Linked DNA regions of Homo sapiens: region 2 is linked to region 1. The links are contacts of gene promoters, found by promoter capture Hi-C in human tissues and cell types (Jung and others, 2019). All regions are on one chromosome and are shown on one strand. The core of a region is centred on a gene start or on the middle of the fragment in contact, and the rest is flanking DNA. Distances in the headings are between cores, read along the strand shown.

What was found. The method cuts DNA at HindIII sites, captures the fragments that hold promoters and counts their contacts. A contact is called where the count stands out against the background at its distance.
Region 2: a fragment that was not itself captured here is called in contact with the fragment with the promoter of OR4M2 in region 1 in 4 of the 25 tissues and cell types used here (bladder, dorsolateral prefrontal cortex, heart right ventricle and 1 more).

What each region holds. Positions count from the first base shown.
Region 1 is chr15:22,077,025-22,082,909 of GRCh38, forward strand. It overlaps OR4M2 (olfactory receptor family 4 subfamily M member 2), which reads left to right and starts at 3,503. Exons shown (of 1, transcript NM_001004719.2): 1 at 3,503-4,586. The coding sequence starts at 3,601. The coding sequence ends at 4,542. All of the region lies in intron 7 of OR4M2-OT1 (OR4M2 overlapping transcript 1), which reads left to right. The HindIII fragment of the contact is 6,887 bases long and covers 1-5,772 here.
Region 2 is chr15:22,154,017-22,159,901 of GRCh38, forward strand. No RefSeq gene overlaps it. Among named protein-coding and RNA genes, the nearest start is that of OR4N4, 62 kb to the left of the region's middle. The HindIII fragment of the contact is 9,231 bases long and covers 1-5,885 here.

The DNA of each region.
Region 1 (5,885 bases), core at 2,253-4,752:
TTTTTGGTACAATTCCCAGCTTTTCTTGGGGTGTTACAGTGCATACCCAAGTATGTATAGTTTATTTAGCCCAATTTTATTAAGGACGTGGTATGGGCTGGATGAACCTCATTTTAGACACAGAAGATAGGAAAACAATATTTTTAAATTGCCATTGTGGAGTTCAAATTCCAGCTGCCTTTGGTACTATGACAATAGCAACATATGATCCATTGATAAACCCTGGAGTTGCATCTCCTAAATATTTTCTAAACAAATTATTATTCTCTTCAAATAGTTATTGCTGTATTGTTAGTTTAAGCCATATATATATATATATATATATATATATATATATATATATATATATATATTCTTGTAATGTTGTCTTACTCTGATTTATTCACATAGCAGCCAGGGTGATATTTCTAAATTGCAAATTGTATTAAGCTATTCTCCCGAGTTTTATTGTAAAACATATTGAAAGAAAATTGGAAATCCAATTTTATTATTGTGGGCTACATTACTTGGTCTTTGACTAACTCTTTATTTTGTTCTTATGCTTCTACCAGTTGTGGGTCTTCTACAGTTCTTAGAAAGTCTTTCATGACACAAGGCCTTTTCATTTACTATTCTCTATTCCTAAAATGCTTTTCTTCAAACTTTCAAAGTTAGAAAAACGTCACCAACTCAGAACCTTTTCTAAAATACTCCATCACACACATACCACTCCCATCATTATTTACTCTACCATTGCCTTTTTATTTCCTGCTTGTCTTTTAGCACTAGTAGCAATTATTTTATTTTACTTATTTATATTTTATTTTATTTTTATTTGTTTACTTATTTATTGTCTGTCTATATTTTCAGAATGGAAGTTTGATGAGGCAGATATTGAGTGTTCCTTGTTCATTGTTGTGTCTCAGCAGGTAGCATATAGTAGATACTCTCTAAATGTTTGTGGGATAAACAAATGAATAGTTTACAGAAGTGACACAGAAGCTATATATTTAGGAATAGACTTTTTAATATCACATGTAGATAGCTTTGTTTTGACATGTGTTAAATGACAAGTGCTGGACAGAATAAGAATTGTTGCGTCATTTATGGTATTTTAGGTAATGGTTATGTTAATGTAGGGAAACTAGGTGCTTGTTCTTCCTTGAAGTGACATGGTGTAGTGGTGTGTGTGTGTGTGTGTGTGTGTGTGTGTGTGTGTGTGTGTGATGAGTAGTGGCTGAGCATTACTAGCTTTGGGAGTAGGGGGTTTGATTGGCTGCCTGACTATTGGATTGAGATGCTCCAGCAAAATATTTCTTTTCCACTTGACACTTGTGAAGGGTGGAGGACAGAGACACTCATCAAGGAGTGTGGAGGGATGAATCCTTTGTATTTTTGTCCTAAGGAATAAATGTGGTTGATTTTGGTTCTTAATGCAAAGTATATACATCATTAGTTTCTAATTTTATGTCATATGTTGAACACTGAGGTACAAAAGAAAATCTCTTTGACACTTTTTTCTGGTAAAATCACCCTTTCTATTCCATAATACCTGATGTATGTCTGTCTTTTCAAGACATCAACACTCATTCACATAAATTCTTTCTAGATTAGTGCCATTTTCTACTTCTGTTTTGGTGGAATGGGTATGGAGTAGAGCAGAGGAAGAAGGGGTGATTTGTGTGATGACACTCAGAATCATTGCATCATGTCCCCATAATAATAAAAAAGCATATGATCTTGTAATGGTATTTACTGCTTTAAAATATTCATCTCCTTTCAATAATAAAGGGACAATTATTTACTTAGGAACAAATAATCGCTTCCATCTGGTCAAAAACTACATAGCATTATAGCAAAATATGTAAATGAGCTGAGTAATCATAATATTTCAGATGCTTTTGTTAGAAATTTATTTGATTGTTGGAACCTCATAGTTGACTTATCAGTGAATGTAAATGAGTTAGTATATAACTAGCTCATAGCCCTCATAACTAATAACACAATGTTGTGTTATTAGTTATGAGGGCTATGAGCTGCCTCCTCCAGGTAAGTACAATAAGATCATTGTTTCTTGGAATGTTAGGAAATATTTCATTCTGGATAACCTTATTATCTTTCTTTTGATTAAAATCTTCCTAAACCAAATTTTAAATTTTTCAATCTTATTAAATATGCTTCATTAACTCACTGAGGTCCACACTGGGCAATTTATGGACAAGGGGAAATTGATCCCTTTTCTAAATAGTCCCACACTATTCAATTTCTGAGTATTTTTACCTTTCTTCCGCTTGCTACCAGATTCCTGGAAAACACTGGTTTTATGTGTGTGTGTCTGCTTGTAGTAAGCCATCCCTTTTTCAAAATACAATGCTTCTATAAGATATTGAAAGTCATTTATCTATGTTTGTTAAAATTATGTGTAAATTGAGTCAGTAGGTTCCAAAAATGGCGCATTTAATTTCTTTTCTCAGTAGTATACATAGTGCCCATAAGTGTTTGGACACAGCCACGTCTATTTGGTTTTACAGAACCTTAACTTTTTAAAAATTCCTTTTCATATTTAATTTTTTTAAGTAATAGGAGAGGCAATATCATAAAATATCACATCAACAGAAAAGAAACAACTCTCTTGTATTTGCTGTTGGTTACAACAAAACTTACTTTGGTGTGGCAGTTTTTAACCTTACTTAAAGAAAAGCATATTTGGTAATGTGAACTGTTATTTCATTTTTATTTGACAAGTTTTGTGCTATTAGTGGTGTCAGATTCAATACAGGGCAGTAAGCAAAATTTTAAAAATAATATTATTCCCATTGTCACCTTGAAACAGCAGAGCAGATCAGCTCAGAATCAAATTGGGTAGCAAGCATACTCATTTCTCAGATCAGTACACCTACTTACGTTCCTGCTGTGGTGAGCAAATTTTATACTCAATGTAGTATCAGGTATTGATGAATCTGGTCACAGCTAGAAGAATTTTTTATATAGGGCCTTGCATAGCTGTATGTTGTGGCTGGTTACCTGTTACCAAGGATTAAGCTGTACAGGTTTTGGTTACAGTTACGGAAAAATATGTCCCTTCACTACTTATGAAGCCTTGGGATCTCTTTTCTGTATCACAACTAAAGTACTGCTAGATCTGTGTGTGTGCTATTAGAATGCAAGCCTAAGTTTCCAAGTTGGCAAGATTTCCCAACAAAAAAAAAGATATAGAAAAAAGAGGCCACATCTCTGATTGCCAGTCTAAAATTTGGCTACACTCAGAAGTAGCTTCACATATTGCTTACTAATGTAGATGTTTGGGGGAAGAAGTAGTGCATTGCCAAATTTCAGAAAAAGTAAGTTTTTAACATTAACAAGCTGAGATTTGAGTTTCAAATATATGCCACACTTCATATAGTTTTAATGTTTCCAATTTGTAACTTCATCACATACTCTCTCCCTCTTGGTTTATCAGATATAAAATGGGCAACCAAATGTATCCTCGTGTAATCTGTTAGTGACAGGGAACGTATGACAATTTTGAAAGCAGTGATATAACTCTAGGTAAATGCTATGTCTACTAATTATAGTTTCTTAATTTTCATAGCTATATTATGAAAAGAGTAAATTGAAGAAATGGAAACTGCAAATTACACCAAGGTGACAGAATTTGTTCTCACTGGCCTATCCCAGACTCCAGAGGTCCAACTAGTCCTATTTGTTATATTTCTATCCTTCTATTTGTTCATCCTACCAGGAAATATCCTTATCATTTGCACCATCAGTCTAGACCCTCATCTGACCTCTCCTATGTATTTCCTGTTGGCTAATCTGGCCTTCCTTGATATTTGGTACTCTTCCATTACAGCCCCTGAAATGCTCATAGACTTCTTTGTGGAGAGGAAGATAATTTCTTTTGATGGATGCATTGCACAGCTCTTCTTCTTACACTTTGCTGGGGCTTCGGAGATGTTCTTGCTCACAGTGATGGCCTTTGACCTCTACACTGCTATCTGCCGACCCCTCCACTATGCTACCATCATGAATCAACGTCTCTGCTGTATCCTGGTGGCTCTCTCCTGGAGGGGGGGCTTCATTCATTCTATCATACAGGTGGCTCTCATTGTTCGACTTCCTTTCTGTGGGCCCAATGAGTTAGACAGTTACTTCTGTGACATCACACAGGTTGTCCGGATTGCCTGTGCCAACACCTTCCCAGAGGAGTTAGTGATGATCTGTAGTAGTGGTCTGATCTCTGTGGTGTGTTTGATTGCTCTGTTAATGTCCTATGCCTTCCTTCTGGCCTTGTTCAAGAAACTTTCAGGCTCAGGTGAGAATACCAACAGGGCCATGTCCACCTGCTATTCCCACATTACCATTGTGGTGCTAATGTTTGGGCCATCCATCTACATTTATGCTCGCCCATTTGACTCGTTTTCCCTAGATAAAGTGGTGTCTGTGTTCAATACTTTAATATTCCCTTTACGTAATCCCATTATTTACACATTGAGAAACAAGGAAGTAAAGGCAGCCATGAGGAAGTTGGTCACCAAATATATTTTGTGTAAAGAGAAGTGAAAGATAAATTATACATTTTATAGTTCCCCTGAGGATCATTGTCCTAAAGCAGGAAGTATTTGCAGTAATAATGCTGCATTGACTTCCTCCTTTCATTTGTGTTATTAAAATTTTACTATAATTTTTCTCTATTCATTCCTCTTTATATTGAAAAAATAGAGGCATTAAGATGAAAATAAATTTACTCACACCTACCCTGAAATTCCCAACAGATCATTATTAGAATTTGAGATATAATAATCTGCTAAAGTACATTTTAACTAATTGTTTATTGAGTACTCTGCAGAGGCTCTGGCTTTGACGGGAACATGTTGAGAAAAATAAATAAGACATGAGACGTGTCTATTACAAATATGAAGTAAATGGCAAGCATATGGATGCAGCTAGCTTCAAGTTAGCAAATAAATATTGTTGTCATGTTTCAGTGTTGGCTCAGTGGAATGGTATCTGGTCAACATCTTGCTGGGTCTGGAAAAACAGATTATTTGTCCTTTATCTCCTCTTATTTCCAGAGTTGATGGAAAATGAGGATTTTCCATCAACTTATAAACTGAAATACCTTATAAAGGTATTTCAGTTTATATTTCAGGTGGTGTCTATTCAACAGTTTGGAGACAGAACTCAAAATTTTATCACATTATGAAAACAATTTTTATGAATTCAAAGCAGAGTATAATTTGGCTGATACATGAGATTCATGTCATTCCAGATGAAGCCTCCAGGCAACTAGCAATTTTTGTAGCCAGTCCCTACTTACATCCTTCAGAGTGAAAGCAGCCTTGGGGAGAAAGCTTCTAGGTTGACTGGGATTGGTAGACATCTAGCCGTGTAATTTTTTTCTAAACTATCATCTCCTTTGCCACTTTTGTATGTTTTCCATAATTGCTAATTCTGCCTCTCATGTTAAACTTAAATTGGTAGAGTGCTGTTTTTGTTAGTGCTTAATTCAGAGTTCTTTCCCATTGACAGACCTAGACGTATTGGTTCCCATGATCCCTTAGAGAATTATTAGGGACTGATTTCCTATTCTCAAGCACTAAAAACTCACTCTCCAAGCTTCAGAATGTAAGAGGTAGATTAGAACATTTGATTTTATAGGTTATGTTTTTACTTAAATTTATTAGTTTTTAATTTCAAAACTAGGGAATCTTTTCATTGAAGGGCAAGAATGCATTGGGTATATTAATCTTTAGTCTTCTTTTTTAAATTTGATAATGTAATATGGACTAAATTTTAAGTGAATTAGATCCTTGTCAACATTGGGAATGAATATATAGAAACAAATGGTATAACTATTCCTAGAGTTACTATTTATTTACAGATATATTATTTATTAATTGAGG
Region 2 (5,885 bases), core at 2,431-4,930, 77 kb after region 1:
CTGTCGGCACTGAACACTCAGCATGCTGGCTTCGTCCCCTAAATAAGCTTCATCATGCATGGATAGGCTGGCAGCAATCCCGAGGCCATATGCAGATACACAGCCAACTGGGAAATGGGACACAATTCTTCTCCACTCCTCCTCTGAAGAATGGTCTGACAATGCCCTCTTCAGTTCCTTCCCTCTGCCACCCTGACCAGGACTATGCCATATGTGCACAGAGACACAAAATTCCTGATGGGAAGAATGAGGCTGGATCAACCAGACTAGCGGTTTCTCACTGAGGTAATGTGAGGTCAACTTCTAGGGTGGACAATTCAGGAAATTATCCAGCAGTTTTGTAATTGATGGCTATGGGAAAATGAACCACTGAGATGAGTAATTACTTATATTCCATTATTCCATGTGAGAAACAGACATCACAGTTCACCATAACTAAATTTTCATAACCTAAATTGATTACTTTAAATTTCTTCCTACATCTTCACTTAAGAATTTTTAACCATGAATGTGTCTTACCTATATTCCCAATATTTAAAATTGGGCTGTCAAGAGAGTCTAGAGAATTCGAGAACTAAGAACAGTGAAACTCCTGTATGTTCAGCAGCTCCCAAAGCAACACAATATTCCCCAGGAACACTGTTCTGTGCTTCAGCACAAATCATGCTTGTGTATTTCCTAATGGCTCCAATAGTGACCCTCCATTCCCATCAAACATTTGGCCTCCCCTTTCTCCACTCCCCTCCATTCATACATTATACTCTCAGCTCTGTCTAGGGTATCATAAAAGCCAGCAGACGGACCCTCCTGATCTCCTGAACGTGAAACCTAACACTATCATGCGATCGGCTCCTCTTGGCATAGTGACCTTCAAAGGCATCTCATTTGAATAATTACCTTTTTTTCCCTTCTGTAACAAAGTGTTTCTTTCCATTGTGCCTTCCCATAAGCATTTTAACATAATTTACTGTCCGACTACAGTTATTAATACACACAAATGCCACAACCTCTTTCTAGCCCAGGAGACCTGATTAATTCTTCTCTGGGGATGAGCACACCCTAGAAACACATCCCATTCACATAAACACGGGCACAACGATGACATGTTCTTGAGTCTACACCATTCTCCGTCCAACTCCACGAGCCCCTGAAGACCAAGACAGGCTCTTTCCTGCCTGTGCAAGCTCTGGCCCAGGGACAGCCTGCTGAGGAATGGGCTCAGCTGGGTCTGGGTGCTGGGTTCATCTCTTCCCCTCTCCTGTCCCAAAGCAGGTCCATCACCCTGCTCAGGTCTGAACAGGAGTGTCCAGGTTTGTCTGGCCATCCGACTTTTTCAATGTATAGAAGCTCTCCTATTACCTACTGTATTCATTTTATAGGGCTTTTATGACAAAATACCACAGATCGGATGGCTTACAATACAAAACCAATTTCCTCACACTTATGGAGGATGAAAGCCTAAGATCAAGCTGCCAGCTGGGTGGGTTTCCTCTGAGGTCTCGCTCCCTGGCGTGCAGATGGCGCCTTCTCGCTGTTCTGTGGTAACATGGCCGTCCCTCGGGGCGTGTGCACCCCCCCTCCTGCTTCCCCTTCTTATAACAACAGTCAGATTGCATTAGGGCCCCACTCCAGGAATCTCACTTTAACTTATTTAGCTCTTTAAAAGACACTAATCCAAGTATGATTTCATTCTGAAGGACCAAGGGTTGGGACTTCAGCACATGAATTTAGGAGGGACACAGTCTCCCCTAGCAGCCTCCTCCAGGGATGTCAAATAAAAGGAATAAAAGGACACTGATGCTCCAGAGGGCCTTGAAAGCTTGCAGCTGCTTTGTTGTGGTGGGACATGGGTAAGCCCGCACCTTATCTATGATGGCAGATGGAATGACTTTAGTTTTACCAAACCAGATGACACCAACTATTTGACTGATAAGCCTGGACCCTGGATTTTGTCTGTATTAACCTCCCATCCTCTGTTCAGCAAGTGAGACAGCAAGACAGGGGCTGCAATTTATAAGCTGAAAAAAGACTCAGAAGTTACCATGATAACACCAATGTAGTGGAAAACATGTATCCCCTTTGGGTCAGCCCATCAACTGAGGTTGGAGGTCACTAGGCTGTGAGAGTTGGGCTGTGTAAATATCCCTGGAACAAGACAGTAAAAGTCCATTGTTCTTTTTAGGTTAATGCAAATTGATCTTGAATGTGGGGCAGCAGAAATGCTGAAGAAGGTATTGACTAAACTGATAACGAAATGCTATGTGGCTAACACCTCTCCTATTCTCGTCAGACTGGAGGAGATATTAGGAACAGCTGCATTCACTCGGGAGACCACCTTATTTAACTCCCAGTAATCTACTGTCATTCTCCATGTCCCAACTGGCCTCTGCATGGGCCATGCAGGTCTGTTGTAGGAACTGTGCAGTGGCCTCCTAATGCCTACCTGGGCTAACTCCTTAACAATCTTCATGATTGGATCATCTTCCCCTCCCCAGGGCGGGTGGTGTTGCTCCAGCTGTGGGACTCCCCATGGGTTGGCAGCTCTACCGGCATCCAGTTTGCCTTCTGCTTGGTCACATGCGTCACCACTTTAACTCTCAGTTGGAATTCCCTGGCAGTTGTTTGGAGGGTCACGCCTAAGAAGATATCCATTCTCATGTGTTCTAAGATGGAAGCTATGTATACTAAACAGGGTCTGGGTGGCAGTCCCCCAGGTCGTATCACTAGTTCAACCTGTCTGACTTCTGTGGCCCTTCCATAATCACCTATTGCTGCTATGGGCCCAGATAACTGGTAGGTGTTGCCAGTTAGAGCACATTTGTTGTCTGGCCACGCTGACTGGCTCCTTGGCTGTCTCTCTTCCTTTGGTGCCATTGTTTTTCATCACAGTAGGGTGCATCCCTTGCTTACTCAGTTTCTTCTTTTCTCCTAAGTCAGCAACTACCTGGGGCACATGAAATGTTGGCTGCCCTCCCAGGGGGCTTAACATGGAAATCAGTGCACCATGCCATTTGGTAGGCACTGAATACATAATTGTAGCTTTTATTTTGCAGTAAACAATTCATTGTTGGGACTTCAATAATTCTCAGCATAATTAGCATGCCTCATTTCAACTCCCAGAAGATGTCCTGCAACTCTTCTATAGTCTGCCATTGAGAAGGAGCTGTGTGGGCATCTTCCTCATTGGACCTGGCCCCGCTGGAGCCTGCAACCACTTACCATAAAGGTGCCATCATAGGGCTGGATGGTTTGTGATGGGTGCCATTTTACTCATCTTGAGTCCAGAAAGTATAACACTCTCCACCCCCTGTCCCATAGAGAAGCCACCCTGTGATCCACTCTCTCCCCTTGTGTCTGAATCCAAGTCTAAGCTCCCCCAATTCCACAGTGGTGGCATCCCACATCGTGGTTCACTGCCTTCTCTTAGGTGGGGGAAAGTTCTGTGGGGCTAACTTCTGCTGGCACAGTTGGCCCACTTTTATGTTGGTGGTGACCACCACAAGTACCATTTGGCTACAGACTGTGTCCTGGTATTCCAAGGCTTTTGTGTCTGGAAGGCATCCTTTAGCCAGCCTGCTAAAGGTTGTTCTGGATGTGGAGTGGCCCTCTGTCACATCCTCCACTTGTAAGGCATGACATGTAGTGCGGTTGTTACTCCTAAACAGTATATCTCACTTCAGCTTCCTTCTGTCTTTGAGACCAGGGTCTTAGGGACACACACTTATGTCCTTGCCTTTAACACAGTCCCCACCTAAACCCCTCAGGGTAACTGACTACATCCAATTCACAGGGCTGTCCCTGCACTAGAACTCCCAAGGTTTGTATTCATTTCACTGTGACTTTAGCTTCTTCAGAGCCCTCATCCTCCCTTTTGGAACAGTCGCAGTGGGGCACCTTCTTGACTAAGTGCCATGGGGGCCTAAGGAGTTTGCCGAAATGGGGAATAAAGGATCGCCAATGTCCCAGGAGGCCTTGGAAGGTTTCCAACTGCTTTGGTGTGTTGGGACATGAGTAGACCTGCATCTTATCTTATCTATAATGAAATATGGAATAACTATAGTCTTATGTAACCAGATGACACCAAGTATTTGACTGATAAGCCTAGACCCTGGACTTTGTCTGCATTGACCCCCCCATCCTCTGTTCACCAAGTGAGACAGCAAAGCAGGGGCTGCAGGGCAAGAACCTTTATGGAGTCATCCTAACCTTCATCTCCTTCCCACTGGAGCTCTACATCGGACACCAGGACTTAGGCTTCCAGGACGATGTAGTCATAATAGTCCTAACGCATTGGTGTGGCAGTCGGCAACACTTTAAATGGCCTACCAAATAAACAATGGTCTCCAATTTGCTATCCTATCCCTGCAGGCGGCATCTCATTATAGTTACAGCTGTTCTTGTGGCTGACACACCCTAGCCTGTGCAGTGAGCTCTGCCTCAGTGGTTGCTCAGAGTGCAGTCAGGAGTGGCCAACAGCTGCGACAGCTCAGGCATCTGACTGTCACTTTGTCACATTGTCACATCCACCTCAGGCAACAGGTCCTCCAGAACTTTTGGCATTTTGGAGGCATCCCTGTACACTTGCAGCAGGCCCTATCCATCAAGGATTGCAGCTGTTGGGCCCACAGAGATGTGCATGGCCTGCCTGGGATTTCCCCACAGGTCTCCCCTTCCTTGACACCGTTGTCTAAGAACTTGTGGGATTTTCTTTGACCTTGTTCTGGGCCTCCCAATTGTCATGCTAGACCCCTATTGACTGTAATAGGCGTGGCACCATGTCCAAAAGGCTAAAGAGGAGACCTGGAGCCCATGAACAAGATCTAGGGTGTATTGAGGACTTCCATACAATGTGGCCCAGGAAGAGTGTGTTGGACAGGAAAACCACTACCATTTGTAAAACATGTGTAGTTTATATTATGATTTTCACTTAGCACCCTCTACCTAGCAACCTCCAGATTTAACAAAGAGCCTCAATCACCTGGACATCCTGTGTTCCAAGGGATAGGCCAGGGCTTCAGACGTCCTTCACAGACAAGGAATAAACTTCTGGGTGGACAGCTCCTGGATTTCTTAGCTCAGAGCTCTGAACATACATTCTTCTTAAACTATAGGGTCATTCTCACAGTGTGCTTAAATTAATGCTGCCAGGCATTTCTGGCATACATAGATCTGAACACGCACCTCGTAAAACAATGTATAAAAAAGTGTTCATCAAGACTTTGTATTAGGAATATGTATATTTAAACAACCATTAAATACTGCTACTCATTTACTATAATATTACAATGGCTGCACAGCAAAGCATTGGTGAATACTGACAAGGCTCCAGAAAAGAAAGTCTTATTCACTGTTGGTAGGAACATAAAATGGCACTTCCTTTTTGGAAAATATTTTCATGATTTCTTTGGAGTTAAACATGTTAATTGAACAGATGACTCTAAGGTACTTTATTCAACTGATTTTTTTGTTTTGTTTTGTTTTGTTTTGTTTTGAGATGGAGTTTCGCTCTGTCACCCAGGCTGGAGTGCAGTGGCGCGATCTCGGCTCACTGCAACCTTCGCCTCCCTGGTTCAAGCAATTCTCTGCCTCAGCCTCCCAAGTAGCTGTGATTACAGGCATCCACCACCACGCCCAGCTAATTCTTTGTATTTTTAGTAGAGAAGGGGTTTCGCCATCTTGGCCAGGCTGATCTTGAACTCCTTACCTTGTGATCCACCTGCCTCGGTCTCCCAAAGTGCTGGGATTATAGGCATGAGCCACCGTGCCTCACCTATTCAACTGATTTTAATACTTACTTCTACACAGATACTTTCATGGGAATGCCGGTATCAGCTTTCTTCAGTAGAGCTTTTCCTCCTCCATGAATTTTGCTTATAGGGTGATAA